Linked DNA regions of Homo sapiens: all the other regions are linked to region 2. Evidence: promoter capture Hi-C in human tissues and cell types (Jung and others, 2019). All regions are on one chromosome and are shown on one strand. The core of a region is centred on a gene start or on the middle of the fragment in contact, and the rest is flanking DNA. Distances in the headings are between cores, read along the strand shown. Region 1 has its middle 36 kb from the start of SPATA8-AS1. Region 2 holds the start of SPATA8 (spermatogenesis associated 8). Region 3 has its middle 36 kb from the start of SPATA8.

Region 1 (2,762 bases), core at 185-2,684, 36 kb before region 2:
ATGAATAAGTGGAAGAATATCTCATCCTACATCATAGTCTATAAATATAATGAACATGCTATCATTTTAGATGTCTCCTGCTGGAAAAGCAGCACAGCAAACGGGAGTCCAGGAAGGGTAGTAAAAAATAAATCAACATTCAGTAACAACTGCAACAACAGTAACAAAAACCCATTTCCCTGATGTTTGTTTTTTTAGGCTGGAAATTCGTTCATGAAATTATTTTCTTTATTTTATGTAGAGATTTTATTCTGTTCCATTGGTCTGTATGTCTACAGTTATACCAACACGACACTGTCTTGATGACTGTGGCTTATGGTAAGTTTTGAAATCAGCTAGTGATTTGTTCTTTTTTGAAATCATTTTTGGCTTTCTGGTCATTGCTATTTATTTTAATTTGTAGTACTTGAATAAATCACACTGTTATCATGTGGGGATGATGGGTTAGCAATCTCAGTTGACTATTAGATGAACAGCCTGAGAAGGAGCCTCTAAATTCATGAGTTTGTCCACAAAAGCTGCTACTTTTCAATATTATGCTTTTATTGCATGTATGAATGTGTGTGTACGTTACATGCAAGTATATACTTTTAAGAAATGGAATTCTCTACCTCCCTGCAAATTGGTGGCAGTGCTCAGGATTCTGTGCAGAGGTTGTTTTGTCCCAACCCGGGCTGCTCTCTGTGAGCTGGCCCCCATCACTGCTGGTAGGTAACTATGTGATATATAACTTGCAAGCAGCCCTGCTGTTTGTTACTGGCAATTAATCTCTCTGGTGCCTTTCTTCCATTCAGACTAAGCCTTTATGTTCTAAATCCAGCTATTCTAACGCTCCCCACTTGTGCTGTGTAGAAAAGACTCAGACTGACAGATTATTGCAGGGCAGTTAAGCATGTAATTGCTCAAATGAGTTAAAATCCCTTCAAATATCTGTCTTTGTACCTCATCACACCACTTCACGGACTCAAATATTTGACAATTGATGAAGATAAACTAAAGGGGCCTTCATTAGCTACCAACCACCGTGACAAGCTTCTTTCAGCGAAAGGCTGGTGAATTTTGGAACTTATTATCTACTTAAAAACTGCAGGAAAGCAGAAAAATACTTCAGTGAACTTTAGAATAGAGAAAGCCAGAAGCTTTGCATGGAAGCTGGGGTCAGGAAAAAAAACCCATGGTTTGCTAATCTAAGGCTGCACTTGTTAAAAATGTAGGGAAAGACAGGCAGATGGACTTATCCAATAAAGGAAGGAAAATATTATCATATTCTCATAGGCACCATCATTAATGACCATGTGTTAAATTTAGAGGTAATTACAGAAATGGAGAGAGGGTGGAAGAAGTCCAGGGCTGTGCAGAGGCTGAGCTTAGTGTGGTTGCTGGGCTGCCAGGAGCGATAGCCCCTGCTCTAGGATAAAGTCAGGTGCTGCACCGAGCAAGTGTCTTGAGAAATGCATGGAACTTTGCTCTGGCATAAACCCCAGCAAGTCCTCTGACTTTCAGGGACCTCACTGCTCTATTAAGCTATGCAGACCTTGTGCCAAGGAAAACAGGTGCGAACATGACCAACGGGCATCAGGGAAGAGTAGGGAAGATGCAGATTTGAAGTATGATGGCCTGTGTCTAACTATGGTGAGATGTTGGGCAAATTGTAGCTTTGATTTCCTTATCTATGAAATGTAACTTACTAATTCATGTTGCATGTAATTTTTTTGTGAGGAATAAATGAGAGAAGCATTTGGTACAAATATTGATCATTATTTTATAAAACGGGTGTAGCAAGAATTTTGCTCTATATATTTCATACTTAATGTGAACCTAAAGCTCCATTTCTTATGTAATAGAAAGATAAAAACTCTAAAACAATAAACAAACAAATAGAAGAAAATGTTGAAGTGTTACATTTTCTTTTATGAGACTTTGGTTTCCATTAGCTTAGTGAGCATGGGTTGTCCTGACAGCCGTAATGGACCAAACACCCTCAGCTTCCAAACAGAGACCACGCAACATAGACTTACCCAGGCAGGCCCTTGACTACCTTGGCCCTGACCAGACATTACTTTCCTGTCTGGTTAAATAATGTGACTGGTTAAACAACAATGGTGAGCGGACATTTTTAAATGGGTCCTGAGTTTATCTGGGATCCTAGCGTTTTATTATTGTACATGATGTTGGGTTTTGTTTAGACATAATAACTCTAATTAAACATTTAAGCAAGATGTTCAAAGAAAACGACAACATTAAATCCTTACTAGCTTTAAGAGATGATGCAGTTTGTCTTTTAACCTACCTATCATCTATCTGCGGCCACATATATACACACATACAAACACACATGCATTTACATTAGGGCTGCTCAAATGTTCAGCCATGGTTCTGATATTCTGCCCATATTGACAATTTGGTTTTGTCTTGACCTGGGGCCTTTGGAAAGCTGAATGAATATCTGAGTGGTTACTTTCTGACCTTAGTGTGTAATCAGTGGTCAAATGATCATGTAGACTACTATGATATCGAACAACCATAACAGTGTCAATAATACAAACAAGATATATCTTTTGAACATGCTGCAATATCTTTTAATATTCACTTCTTGTAAGGATAAACATTCTGCATTATTTTGAACAAATGCTTTATTTTTTATTTTGTATTTTGTATGTTGATCTGCTACTGGTCACATATAAGATAGTAAGATATTTTTCCAGCTTTACTGAGGTATAATTAAGAAGTAAAAATTGTACATATTTAACGTATAAACCTGA
Region 2 (2,700 bases), core at 57-2,556:
TCTTCTCCACCTGGGAGCCATTTCTGAGTCTCCCTCACACCTGAGCTTCCATGGACAGGAGACCTCGGCTAGAGTCTGAGGAGTCTGGGAAGATCTCAAGCCTGTCCCCTTCCCCTAGGCTACAGTACTGGATGCTCAGCCCTCCACCATTATGGGGGTGTTTCCTGGCCATTCAGCTGATCACTGTTAAGCTATCATTTCTCTCTGGAAAGGATGCCCAGACCCCATCCGTCTACTTCACCTTCCTGGGTTCCATTCCCTTGTTTCTGGGGCAAGGCTTTTGGGAGGGCTGGAGAGAGAGAGGATGAGGGGACAGGAGAAGGACACTTTGGGCTTTCTGTCCTCCTCCTGTCCTGCCTTAGCTGGCGCCCTTCACTCCCTGTCTCCTGCCTCTGACTGGAACGAGAAAATACCTTGCACATCCCAGGTCCACCCAGCCAACCCTGACTGGTCCAGTAAGCTGTTTCTTCTGCATTTCAGCCCTGGTTCCTGATTCTACCTCCCCCAGGTCTCTACCATTCCACTCTCAGCTTCCTCCTCCTTGCCACCCAATTCTTCTTGGCTTCCCATCACTTCCCCTCTCTTTTACCTCTCTGCCCCTGTCTCGCCAAAGGCTCTCTCCTGTCTGTGGTTCTACTTGATCTCCGTAACTTTTTCCTTCCCTCCATTCACCCTGGACATTTTGCCCTCATGATTTCTCCTTTCCTCTTGTGTATTTGTCTCTTGATGACCCATTTTCCTTTCAGAGAAACTGAGGCTCAGATAGGTCAGGGGTGATGGCCTACATGGGACAGCAGGACTTAGTAGACAAGGCCTTGCATCCTTGCGGCCCTGCTTTCTGTCTCATCCCTCTTCCCTTTTGTCTTGGTCAGCCGCCCAAAGGCTCCAGCTCTGCATCCAGCAGGGGAGCCCCTTGGGGGGTTCCAGAGTCCACAACTGCACACCCGTCACCTTCACCCACTGCCTTGTTGTAGCAAACCTGCAGCCACCCTGTATATTGTATATGTATATTTATCTATTTGTATATAGATATACAATTTCAAGAACCTACTAAAGGAGGAAGCCTCACTGCTATGCAGCCTGACAGGTTATCAAGTGGGCCTCTTTGAATCCCTTTTTGCTTCTAGGAGAGTTGGGAACCATGAGGTGCCCCCCTGCAGACCCCAGAGCTGCTGCCTTCCCCAGGTGTGCAGGAGGTTTGTAGGAGACGGGGCCCCTTGGCTGCCCAAGCTGCCACCCCTCCCCCACCCGCCCAGTGGCAGTTGCGTCCGTTGGGGCTTCTGGGGCAGCCCACAGGGTTCCGAGCATGTGCTGGCAGTTGCTCTTTGGAGCACCCACTTCACTTCTCCCATGTAGTTCCTGAGTGCAGGACTCTCCTGAAGAAGGGGCGTCTAAAAGGCCAGCCCATGCATCTTGTTCAGACCAGGCTGCTCCATCTCCGCTAAGCCCAGGGATCCACTTGTGTGTCTTTCTGGGATAATTGTCTTTAGTGGCAGCCTGGGCCTCGGGGAAGGAAGGGCATGAGGAATGGCCCCGGCTGGGATGTCAGGGGCCCAGGACAACTCCTGTCTCTACCAGGAAATTGCCCCCTCTTTTCAGAGGCTGCCTTGTCCTAGGTATCTGATGTCCTGCCCTTGGCAGTTTTCAACTCCAGATGTAGGTCTGACTCCTATTAGGCTACCATTTCTTTGTGGGAAGACAGGTATGAAATTGCAGCATTCCTAATTCTCTTAATGTGAATTGTCAGAGCCCCTTCAGACCGGTGGCTGGGGCCAGGCATGAGAGGCAGGTGGTAAGGGCAAGAGGAGCAGCCCCTGTGCACTTGGGGAGGCTGGAAGGGTTGGCGAAAGGAGCTGAAAACACCCTAGATTCCCCAAATGGCATGAAGAGATCCCAGCCCTGAGGCACCTCCCACTCAAGCCGGAGATGAGCTTTTCCCAAAATCCAACTCTATGAGGCTCTCACTCAATGTGGGCTCCTGATGCTGAGGGGACATCCTGACACCCCTGTGTTCTCTTCTGCAGAACCTCGTCGCGACATTTCTCAGAAGCCATGACATGTCCCTGCGGCTGGAGGCCTTTCAAGGGTGGCCCAGGAGGCCTCAAGGGCCCGGTGTGGCCTGCAAAGGAAGGTAAGTAGGTGGCAGGGCTGAGTCTGTGCCTCAAAAGCCAACACTCCAGTTTCTTGACTTCCTCCCTTCTCCATTTCCTGAACCTGGATGGGTGCTGCCGGGGATGGTGGGAGGGATGAGACGGAGGACCCCATTCATTTGTTAGGAGATCCAGAGTTCAGCCTCTCCAGTGCCTTGGCTGCCCCCTTCCTCACTCCCAAGTGCTGCTCGTGCATATTTACTCATTGCTCCCTTTTCCTGAGATGGTGCGTATTCTCCTTTAAGAAGTGTAAACCAGACGAGTCTCTTCGGTGATAGCTCAAGGCATAGTCAGCTGCCCACTACTGAGCCTCCTCCCTTCCTTCAGCCTCTGCCCTCTCCAAGCTCACTCTGGCCTTTCTTATCCTAGGTAGGCTCCTGTCCTTTGTCTCTATTTTTGCCTTTGATCACAACTTCTCTCCTGTTGTCCCTTTGGAATGGCAGCATCATTCTGCAGCTTCTCGGTCAGCATGGGTTATGGGTTTGTGCCAACAGCGATGCATGCTGTCCCCAGAGTGGCTGGATGGGCCTTGGACAATCACTCACGTACC
Region 3 (2,700 bases), core at 77-2,576, 36 kb after region 2:
CTTTATGCCTGCCATTCATCAGTGTTCATTCTCTTCTTTCATTTTGAAAATTTATTCATTCATTTATTAATGGTGTAATTTTAGTCTTCAGTTAATTTTACTCAGAAGCCCTCCTTACATCTCATTGTTATTTTATCATTTAAGTGTTGAGCTCCAGTTTAATTGAATTTATATTATTGTTGTTTTTCTATTGCATCAAACAGTAGTAGAAAATTGTCTACTGTGCATTTTGTCAACTGTTTTATAGACTGGGTTCTACATTTGCCTCCTACGTGGAAGTTTCCATTTTCTTCTCTCTCTTTTTTTCAGTAGAATGCGTGCATATTTCCATGTCATTTATTTTTATCATGTTGGTAGAATGAGGCTCTCTCTGGATTTCTACTTGCTCTGATATAGCATGGGTGAATACCCTTGGACTCACTTCTAATCTTCTCTGATTCATGTTTATTTTCTCTGTGCTAAGTTTTCCATAGACTAATCGAGGATAGGTTCAGGGAGAAGGAAAAGCCACGTCCCTTAAGTAAAGCTGAAAGCTGGGGCTTTGCTTTCAGAATTAGGCTCTGTATTCCTTTCTGAATTTTTTTGACTTTCTGGTACCAGGGTTATTGCAGCTAGCAAGTGGGGCTGGGATATAATTGGATATAATTCAGATCACTTCATCAGGGAAGTGTGGAGCTCTGAGCCTATGGGTTTTTCAGAGTTAGTCCCAGTTGTTTACTTGCTTAATTTCACTCCAGGGAACTGTTTCCTGTTTTCATCCCTTCCAAGGATCTTTTTCCCCTTTTCAGGTAAATGAAATCGACAGGGAAAGACATACCCACAGTCTACAGTCTCTTCTGTTTTAGCTAAAGTACAAAATTGCAAAAGTATACAATACAATATTTTGGTAGCATTTCTGGGAGCCAAATTGATAGGCACCACAGCCATCTTTCTCAAATTGCACTAGAAACTTCTACCTCTTCTCATCACTTCACCTTTTGAGTTTTTGATAGGAGTACATTTTCCTCTCCTGGTATAGTTGCTTTTGGTAGCTACACAATCATTATTATTATTACTATGTAGGTATCAGGAGAGAAAGGCCGTCATTCTTCACCATGTTGCTATCTGTTCTTAGAAATTCTGTCTCTGCCTCTACTCCATGGAAAGGAAATTTATCTTGTTGGAGGGCGTGTTTCAACACGTCTGAGAGTTGGAGGAAATGGAACCACTTGCGATTACTGTAAAATGGTTTCTTGATTACTAATTTGCAGATACCACACAGATGGGCAGATAAAACTGAAGAATAAAGTAATTTATTGACTTATCTGGTGAGGTTACCTGAATAGGCTATATCCTGGGGAAAGACTCAATATCAAGGAAATCATAATGGTTTACAGTGGATGAGGATGGGGTGACATGAGTTGAGGCCATATGAGGGTCTGGGCCATCAGAAAGGAAATCTGAGGATAATGAAGGGGTAGGAACTTTTATGGATAAGATGGGGATGCCTTCTGAGATCTAAATGTTCCAGGTTGTTCATCTCCCTGTGAAAGAACTTCCAGCTTGGCAAATACTAACATGTGAATTAGGCTGGAGGTCACAATGATTAGGAAGACTGATAGGTAGGTACAAATGCTGCCACATTGGGAGATGTAGCATTAAGTCTCAAAATTCTAGTGTGTTAGTTTGTTCTGCAGATGTTTAGTAAGTCTGGCTGTGGTGGGGATTATACCCCTTTTGTTCTTATTTTCTGACTTGCTTATACAGATGGTCCCCGACTTAAGATGGTTGGACTCAGAATTTTTTGACTTTAAGACGGTTTAAAAGCGATATGTGTTCAGTAGAAACCATACTTCAAATACCCATATAACCATTGTGGCTTTAAATTTCAGTACAGTCTTCAATAAATTACATGATATACTCAATACTTCATTATAAAATAGGCTTTGTATTAAATTATTTTGCCCACCTGTAGGCTAATGTAAGTGTTCTGAGCATGTTTAAGGAAGGCTACGCTAAGCTGTGATGTTTGGTAGGCAAGTTATATTAAATGCTTTTCATTTCTTAGTATATTCTCAACCTATGATGGGTTTATCAGTCTGTAACCCCATCATAAGTCAAAGAACATCTGTATCTCTCTTGCTAGATGAGTGTTTGTAAACAGTCTCAAATCCTTATTGGAAAAAAATGAGGTACAAATGAAGACATATTATAATGCCTTAATGATGTTGTTGTTTATCATGTATTTAAAAAAATCAAATCCTCTAACTTGAATGAATCTCAGTGCACTTAGGTGTAATGGGGTGGACGAGACACCATCACCAACACTTCCACTGGCTAGTCATTCTGAATATATATCAACATAGTTGTATTATTTCTGGTGATCCCTTTTAAAAGATGAAATTTGGACTCACTTTGGAAAAAGTTGTTAGCAAAATGTCATTTAATCTTGGTAGTTGGGCAATGAGGCAGAACGTTTTGCATGTTTGCAAAATAAGCTTCATTTTGATGCATTTGGTTGTACTGATTATATTAATTAACTTAACAGCAAGTGTGAAGATTATTTATGATGCATTAAAAATGATTGGACCTTAATTGCTTCCCTGGTAGAACAAGGGACTTGAATTTCAGGGTGAGATTTGTAAAAAATTTAGCTTGCTGGTATGCAAATTCAAATTTTAGAATTGGTCCTTTGAAAACAAATGAAATCCCATAATGGGA

What was found. Contacts are between HindIII fragments. The study calls those that stand out against the background at their distance.
Region 1: a fragment that was not itself captured here is called in contact with the fragment with the promoter of SPATA8 in region 2 in 3 of the 25 tissues and cell types used here (H1 embryonic stem cells, adrenal gland and heart right ventricle).
Region 3: a fragment that was not itself captured here is called in contact with the fragment with the promoter of SPATA8 in region 2 in 1 of the 25 tissues and cell types used here (hippocampus).

Annotation. Positions count from the first base shown.
Region 1 is chr15:96,745,985-96,748,746 of GRCh38, forward strand. No RefSeq gene overlaps it. Among named protein-coding and RNA genes, the nearest start is that of SPATA8-AS1, 36 kb to the right of the region's middle. The HindIII fragment of the contact is 4,057 bases long and covers 1-2,762 here.
Region 2 is chr15:96,782,129-96,784,828 of GRCh38, forward strand. SPATA8 (spermatogenesis associated 8) reads left to right here and starts at 1,307. Exons shown (of 3, transcript NR_158223.1): 1 at 1,307-1,461; 2 at 2,025-2,131. SPATA8-AS1 (SPATA8 antisense RNA 1) reads right to left here and starts at 1,209. Exons shown (of 4, transcript NR_102753.1): 1 at 1,048-1,209. The HindIII fragment of the contact is 9,916 bases long and covers 1-2,700 here.
Region 3 is chr15:96,817,881-96,820,580 of GRCh38, forward strand. No RefSeq gene overlaps it. Among named protein-coding and RNA genes, the nearest start is that of SPATA8, 36 kb to the left of the region's middle. The HindIII fragment of the contact is 4,527 bases long and covers 1-2,700 here.